2 separate regions of the Homo sapiens genome follow, and region 2 is linked to region 1. Evidence: promoter capture Hi-C in human tissues and cell types (Jung and others, 2019). All regions are on one chromosome and are shown on one strand. The core of a region is centred on a gene start or on the middle of the fragment in contact, and the rest is flanking DNA. Distances in the headings are between cores, read along the strand shown. Region 1 holds the start of LOC101927344 (a long non-coding RNA gene). Region 2 holds the start of CCDC134 (coiled-coil domain containing 134).

Evidence for each region. Contacts are between HindIII fragments. The study calls those that stand out against the background at their distance.
Region 2: the fragment with the promoter of CCDC134 here is called in contact with a fragment that was not itself captured in region 1 in 1 of the 25 tissues and cell types used here (spleen).

What each region holds. Positions count from the first base shown.
Region 1 is chr22:42,436,247-42,440,101 of GRCh38, reverse strand. It overlaps LOC101927344 (a long non-coding RNA gene), which reads right to left and starts at 1,935. Exons shown (of 6, transcript NR_188414.1): 1 at 1,770-1,935. It also overlaps a transcript of NFAM1 not described here. RefSeq lists enhancers at 1,386-1,887, 1,851-1,900, 2,641-2,740. The HindIII fragment of the contact is 3,608 bases long and covers 1-3,054 here.
Region 2 is chr22:41,798,686-41,802,540 of GRCh38, reverse strand. It overlaps CCDC134 (coiled-coil domain containing 134), which reads right to left and starts at 1,862. Exons shown (of 7, transcript NM_024821.5): 1 at 1,775-1,862. It overlaps MEI1 (meiotic double-stranded break formation protein 1), which reads right to left. Exons shown (of 31, transcript NM_152513.4): 31 at 3,087-3,287. The coding sequence ends at 3,242. RefSeq lists silencers at 1,840-1,899, 2,490-2,579 and enhancers at 2,050-2,129, 2,200-2,279, 2,055-3,041. The HindIII fragment of the contact is 18,239 bases long and covers 1-3,796 here.

The DNA.
Region 1 (3,855 bases), core at 1-2,500:
TGTGGCCACCTGAAGCCAGGCCCTGGGGTGGGTGACCAAGGGCCTCCCGCCCACTCCTAGGCCAGCCGCTCCTGGCAAGTGCCCAAGTCCCCGTCCCACGGGCAGCTCAGAGATGGCCTGGCCCCATGCTCCTTGTTTGACACAAAATCAGCAGACACCGGGAGGAAAGAAAAGAAAAGGGAAGCTCAAGAGAAACAGTGACTCAGGCACAGGCTCCCTGCCAGGCAGACAAAAACGCCCAAAACACTTTCGTTTTGCCCCAGGGGAGTTTCCTGGGGAGGGGGCTTCTGCAAGTGAAGCCTTTGGTCACCTGTGACCTGCTGGAAAGATCATGGTCCAGAGATCCAAAGGCGGATTTTCCCTCCCTCTGATTCTATTCCGACGATGGAGGGCAGACTGGGATTACTGTTGATCTGCACACCCCTGGGAGATTTCTGGTCCTAAAACAGCATCTTGCCTGTAGTCCCAGCTACTCAGAAGGCTGAGGCAGGAGAATCACTTGAACCCGGGAGGCGGAGGTTGCAGTGAGCCAAGATCGCACCATTGCACTCCAGTCTGGGCAACAGGAGTAAAACTCCGTCTCGAAAAAACAAACAAACAAACAAAAACAAAACAGCATCTCCTCAGTGTTGCGGGGCATTTTGTACAGAATGGATGTTCGAGTCCAATAAGTGCAGGAAGTCTCTAACTTCCCAAGGAGCTGTCTCCCAGAGAAAGCCGTTCCCACTCAGAAACCGGATTATAAATGACGTCGGGCTTCCAGGAACCGCCCGAAAGCTGCTGAACTCTGAATGCAGCTGAAAATCTGTACATGTGAAATGAAAACAGTAAAAATCAATACTAGTTGCAATACCAGTAATTTCTGAACAGAAAAAATAAATGGTTTTATGCATCTGACTGTGGATGCTGGAGAGAGAAGGTAGTTTTCATCAGAGGAGGCCTAGGGGAGGAGGGAGGCCTTCTCATTCCACTTCCCCTGCGTCTCTCTCCAGCCTCAGCCTCTCAGCCTGGAAGGAACACCCCAGTCCCTCCTGCGAGCCCTCCTGTCTACTCCTGGAAGCTTCTTTTTTTTTTTTTTTTTTTTTGTGAGACAGAGTTTTGCTCTTGCTGCCCAGTCTGGAGTGCAATGGCGCAATCTCGGCTCACTGCAACCTCCACCTCCCGGGTTCAAGCGATTCTCCTGCCTCAGCCTCCCGAGTAGCTAGGATTACAGGCGTGCGCCACCATGCCCGGCTAATTTTGTATTTTTAGTGGAGACGGTGTTTCTCCATGTTGGTCAGGCTGGTCTCAAACTCCTGACCTCAGGTGATCCACCCGCCACAGCCTCCCAAAGTGCTGGGATTACAGGCGTGAGCCACCTCGCCTGGCCTAAAACTACTTTTCTATCAACATCTCACTGTTTGCAGAGTGCTCTCACTTCGTTTACTTCCATTGTTCTTCACTAAACCCTGACAAAGTGGGTATTTCATCCCCATTTTGTGGATGCAGAAACTGCCCCCCACTTCAACGCCTGAGGAGACAAGGCTGGGATGCAAACTGAGCTCACGCCAGAGCCCCTGCCCTTCCCAGGACGCGGCGCTGTCCCTACAAGGAGGAGGGAGAGGGGAGGGAGTGGGGAAGGGAGAAAGGTTGCCGGGAGGAGGAGGAAGGATGGAAGGGAGGGAGGGAGGGCAGGTGGGGGGCAGAAGGGGCGGGGAGGAGGGAGGAAGTGGGAAGGAGGGCGAAGAAGGGAGAAGCGGGGGAACGGAGAGGGGGAGGGAGTATCAAACCTGTCCCATATTTGAGAGGTGCTTCGGGCAGTTTCCGAAGTGTGAGAGCCAGGGTCTGTTTAAATGCAGATTTCCTGGCCCTGCAACTCTCTGGGGTGGAGCCAGCGTGTCTGCAGAATAGTGGCAGCCACACACACACCCTCTGCTCACGGGAGACTGAGGCTCTGGTCTCACAGAACCTGAGAACTGTGGGTGAGGAAGCATGAATAGCCTCAGGGGAGGCTAATTGCTTCCTTAATTAGCTGAACCCGCGCTGGGGAGCCCTGCCCGGAAAGTCCCAGTTGCTGGGAAGGATGGGACTGGCTTGCCTGGCGGCCAATAACCGTTTCCGCTGGCGGCTGCCCCCGAGGAGACTGTGCGGCGTTTCCAGCAGAAACAGCACGAGGGGAAAGGGCCGGGCCACCGCGGTGCCCAGGAAGGGATTTAAAGAGGCAAGCTGAGGTCCTGCAGCCGCCACGCCCTGCACCCTGTACCGACAGCCCTCCGCCGGCACACTCTTGGTTCTGCCTGCACCGGACCCCCCCGGAACCCCCACTGCCCTATCCCACTGCCGCTCAAGCCCTATCTTGATCTTGCTAGGCGGTGGCCTCAGGGCAGCCCAGGACCCCTAGAGGGGGAAGAAGGGTCACGGAGAGGAAATCTCAGGTGAGGGCGTTCCCATGTCTACCACCAGGTGGCACCATCAGCACAGGCCAACCCTGGGGCCGTCCTGCGTGGCCAGGAGGGGAAGTGGGTGGCACCGTTAGTGGGGGACTTGGTGGCTCTGGCGTCTGTTGTCTGAGGGCCTCCTGGTTCTGTGCTCGTCTCTTTCAGGGACATGGTTGTGTCAAGGGCCCGAGCCTCCCAGAACCTTGGCACATGGTGGACGTGGAATAAATGTTGAAAATTGTGGCCGGGTATGGTAGGTCACACCTGTAATCCCAGCACTTTGGGAGACCGAGGCGGGCAGATCACTTGAGGCCAGGAGTTCGAGACCAGCCTGGCCAACATGGTAAAACCCCGTCTCTACTAAAAAATACAAACATAGCCGGGTGTGGTGGTGGGTGCCTTTAATCCCAGCTGCTTGGGAGGCTGAGACAGGAGAATCACTTGAACCTGGGAGGAGGAGGTTGCAGTGAGCCAAGATCGCACCACTGCACTCCAGCCTGGGTGACGGAGCGAGACTCCATCTCAGAAAAAAAAAAAAAAAAAGACAAAAAGAAAAAATCATGCCACCTTTGTTTTTTGTTTCTTCCAGATCTTGAAGATTCCTTTTGGTGTGGCGGGGTTGGGGAGTTGGCACTAGCTCCTTGCTGCCTCCCAGAAACTGAGCATAGCAGGGGGACCATGGTATGTGTCCAGTAGAAAAGCCCGGGTCCCCTCTGTGACCTCAAGCAGGTGAGTCACTGTTTTTCTCCCTCACTAAATATGTCAGCTGAGGCGTATAATATCTGCCCTGATTAAAGGACCAGGTGAATTGCAGGAGAGCGCAGTGGTTAAAGCCAGGTCCCGGGAGCTGGAGCCCTTGTTCCACTGCGTCTTCGCTGTGTGGCCTTGGGCAAGTGGCTTGTGTTCTCTGAACTCCAGTTTCCTCATCTGCGAAGCAGGAGCAGTCATAACACCTCCCATACAAGGTTTCTATGAGGGCTGAAGTACAAGAAAAGCCTTTAGAACTGTGTCTGGCATCAAACAAATGCTTAAGAGCCAAAAATACAAGCAGCTGGAACTGAGAGGGGATTCTGGAGACAAGCCAGGCCAGGCTTCCAGCCCGGGCAGCCTGCGGGCAGATGGCCTCCAGGTGGGTCTGCCTGCCTCTGGTGGGGTCAGCACCACCCAGCTGCAGGGCCACTGCGAGGCACAAGACGGCCCCAGAGGTAAACCCGGCTGCTCCTAGGATGGAGGCTGCCCTTTTTGATAGTGAGGGTGTTTGAGAGAGAGGGTGGATCGGCCCCTGAGTACCCTGGAACCCTTTTTGCCTCAGTGAAGCCAGCTCAGAGGGTCATTCTGAGGGGTCCCTCCTGCTGGTCGGCTCAGCTCCTCTTGGTGCTGGAGTCTTTGGGGAGGAAGGAAGTGATTTTCGCAGCCGCAGCGGGGAGCAGAGGGATCT
Region 2 (3,855 bases), core at 613-3,112, 640 kb after region 1:
GCCTTGGCGGTTGCCCAGGCTGGTCTTGAACTTCTGGACTCAAGTGATACTCCCTCCTTGACCTCCCAAAGTACTGGGATTACAGACGTGAGCCCCTGCTCCCAACCACTACAAGGGTTTTGACACTGACTCCTAGTCACCAGTCTCCAACTGGAGACTCCTAGTCTCCAACATGGCAAGAGACCAACAACCCAAGATAGGTCCGTCCCAGCACTGAGGGACCTAACTACAGGATGACTGATCAGTAAAGTTTTTGGAGAAAGATCTTGACCAAAAGGGGGAAATATGAAAGTTGTTAGAATCAAAACAGAGTCGTTTGTGTTAAAAACTCTGACAAATTTAAAGCATGATTCTCCAATGGGAAAAAACAAGAACAACAACTCTGACAAATAAAACCGAGGAAGGTTGTGAAAAGAGGGTTCTTATGCACAAATGACTGATAACAAGATCACAAAAAATGCAAAAACCACAACCCTGCACAAAGGCCACTGCAAACTTACACAGAAAAATCTTTCTGTGAGGACATCTGCCCTGCAACTGCCTGTCCAACCTCAGACTAGCACCACTCTTGCTATTCATCCTTGTAGCCAAGGATAACTATCTCAAAATAATCATGTAATCCTCATTTTTCCTTTTCAAAACCTTTGTCTTCCTTTACCTCCCCAAATACGTACACAGGTTACTATGGCACACATATTGTCACTACAATGTCTATTCCCAAGTAAACATCATTTTTTTAGAGTCTCTCACTCTGCTATTTAGGTTGACAGTACCTACCACACTCTAGGCACTGTTCTAGAGGCGGGAATACAGCAATAAATAAGCAAAAATCTCTGCACTCATGGTACTTGTCTCTAGTAGGGATAAGAGTTGATCAATAAACTTGTAAAATAAGCACAGAGGGATGAGAGGGTGTCGGTCAGGTACAAGATTACATAAAGTGGTCAGGAGAGGTCTCACACTCAGATTACAACTCCCCAATGTTACCAATGTGAAATCAAGGCACAGAAAAATGAGGTGACTGCCCAAAGTCACACAGCTATTCCCAGGCTGAACCAAGTGTCTGTTTGGCTCTAAGTCCAGTGCTCTGTCTTCTGACTCTTTGTAAATGAGCACAGGCTACCTGAGATCAGAGCTGGCTACTGAACTACCAGGACACCTGCCCCAGGGGAGAGATGCTCAGTTACAGACAGTGAGGGGCTGCAGAGATCATCCGGAGAACCCCCTACCCCCAAGCAGACGAGATAAGTGAAACCTAGAGAAGGAATAGTCCAAGTTCACCCAGGACCCTCCACATTCCACCTCCTGCTCCAAACTCAAGGGAACCAGAACCAGGCTAGGGCAAAACTTTAGGGGCCAAGGAGAATACCAGACAGCTGGCAATGACTGAAGCAGGTAGTGGGAAAGAAAAGCCAGAACAGCAGCCTGCGGGACAGGTCCTGCTTTCTCTACTGTTAAACTCACTTTTTCAGCCTCTCAATCCCGATCCTGCCGTATGCGTCACCCGGAGCTCCTCCTGGCTCAGCATGAGGCTCTGAACTCCTGCAGAGGTACCAGGTAGTGGCGGGCCTTGAGCCAGCTACCGGGGTCGGGGGCCCAGGTGGTTGACCCCGAGCCTTCGGAGCTCCCGGAGGAGGGAGCGAGCCTTCTCAAGGAACAGAGGCGTCCAGGTCCACGAAACTCCCTCCCCACCACCTGCAGCCGGTTCGAGGCCCTCGGTTCTCTCATTATCCTTCCCGGGAACCTGCAGCCCGCGGCCCCTACAGCCACCTACCTGGCCAGTCGGTGCAGGAAGGGCAGGTGGCCGAGTCCTGTGCGAGCAGCTAGGCTCGAAGGTCCAACAGGCTAACAGCAAAGCAACTGAAAGCGGGAGCAAACGGCTAGCAACCGAGCGCAGACCGCCGAGCTCCGTCCCGCCCACCGCGCTGCTCCCGGCCAATGAGCGCGAGCCGCCACTGCGGGGCTCCGCTAGCCTCACTTCCGGCCCCGCTCCACCGCCCCTGCCTGCCCCTCCAGGCTCTGGCGTGCCTCCAGCGCGCTGTGGGCACCATCCTCGTCCTGTCCCTCCTGCGGGCCCTGGGTACGTGGCCCTGGATTTAGCTTGTGTTGGAGGAAGTTAAATCTGTGGGTGGGGTCTGTGCCCAATTTAAGGCGTGAATCAGCAAACTGGGGTCCCAGCTCCTGTCGGCCGGGCGACCTTCTGCGCGCCCTCCCTGAAACTGTGTCGTCGTCTGTGGCCGAGTTTTTAAACTTTAGATCGCAACGTGAGTTTAGTGGGCGGTGACTAGCACTTTTGTTCTTCTTTAAGGACCTCAGAGACTCAGTGCAGGATTCGGGCATCCCCTCCTTGCCCCTCCGGTCCACCAACTAATAAGCCAAGTGCGGCGGGGGCTTCCTCGTCCGTTCGTTAGGCCGAGTGCAGCCCCACTTTTGCGCAGGATCAGGACAGTCAGACCCGAGAAGGCAGCGTGGCGTGGCCATCTCCGGGCCCGGGGCCCCTGCCGGGCGGGAAGGGAGCTGGAGGCCCGGTCTGGGCTGAGCTCCCCAGAACAGGCGCAGGGCAGGCACTGTCGAGCGCAGACCTCATGCCGGGGACCAAGCTGGACATGCATTCCCAGGATCTACCCACGAGGGTGCATAAACACCAGTTCTGATGACGGCTGTACGGGAAGGGACAGAGGTGACCTACTTTAGCCAGACAAGGGCTGAGGCTGGGACAGTTTCGTTCTGATAGGAAAGCTGAGAATTTGACCCTCCTTGCCTGGAAAGTTTACCTCTATCCACCTCCACGTGAGGCGAGGGAGCAGGTCAAGTGCCTCTGGGAGCTGTTGAATCGCAGCAGCCCCAACCCCTAGGCCTTTCTCTGCCCTGCCAGCCCCAGGATGGCCTGACTGGTGTTCTCTGAGTACAGCTGAGGCACCCAGCTGACTCCTTGAATGCTGTTACAAGAACAAATCCTGTCCCGTCCCTCCTTCCCTGAGGAGGCCATCAGTCTCCTTGCTGAAACAATCCCTTATCCAACTGGCTGAGAAACCAGCTCCTGGTAGACAAGGTAGTACAGTGTTTTTGGAGAGCTCGCGCAGGTATGTGAGTGTATCATTTTATTTCCTTATTCTATTTCAACAATAGAGTATATGGCTCCATATGAATAGCTTCAGCTGTCATCCATTTCCCCAACAATTATGCCCTTTGTCTCCAGGTCTCATTCTCTCTCCACTTCTGGGCCTTCAAGTCCTGAGGATCAGTTTCTGATGTGGGACAGGGATACAGCCACCCCTCCCAGGCAGCTGGCAGCAAAACATGAGAGGAAAACAGCAGAGAAGTGGGGCCAACCATGGGGGCATCACACTTCCAGAGCCCAAAACAGTCAAGAATGGTCAGGCAAGAACAGAAGTGCTCCTGAGAATAGTGGGATGGATTCTGAAATTGGGTCCTGAACACCTGGGCTAGGTAGTTGCTATTCAACAGGGAACTATTGCACGGAAGGGGCAAGGAAGAGAGCCAGGGAGGCAGCCAGAGGGGTGCAGAGGAAGCAAACTACCCTCACACACACCTCTGGACTGCAGTATCTCTGGACTGCAGTGTCTCTGGGTGCAACCAGCCACCTACCAGAGGGTCTCTGACCACTGCCACAGCCCCAAGCTTGCTTTTTTTTTTTTTTTTTGAGACATAGTCTCACTCTGCCACCCAGGCTGGAGTGTGCAGTGGCACAATCTCGGCTCTCTGGTCACTGCAATCTCCACCTCCCAGGTTCAAGTGATTGTCCTGCCTCATCCTCCCAAGTAGCTTGGATTACAGGCATGCACCACCATGCCCGGCTAATTTTTGTATTTTTAGTAGAGATGGGGTTTTACC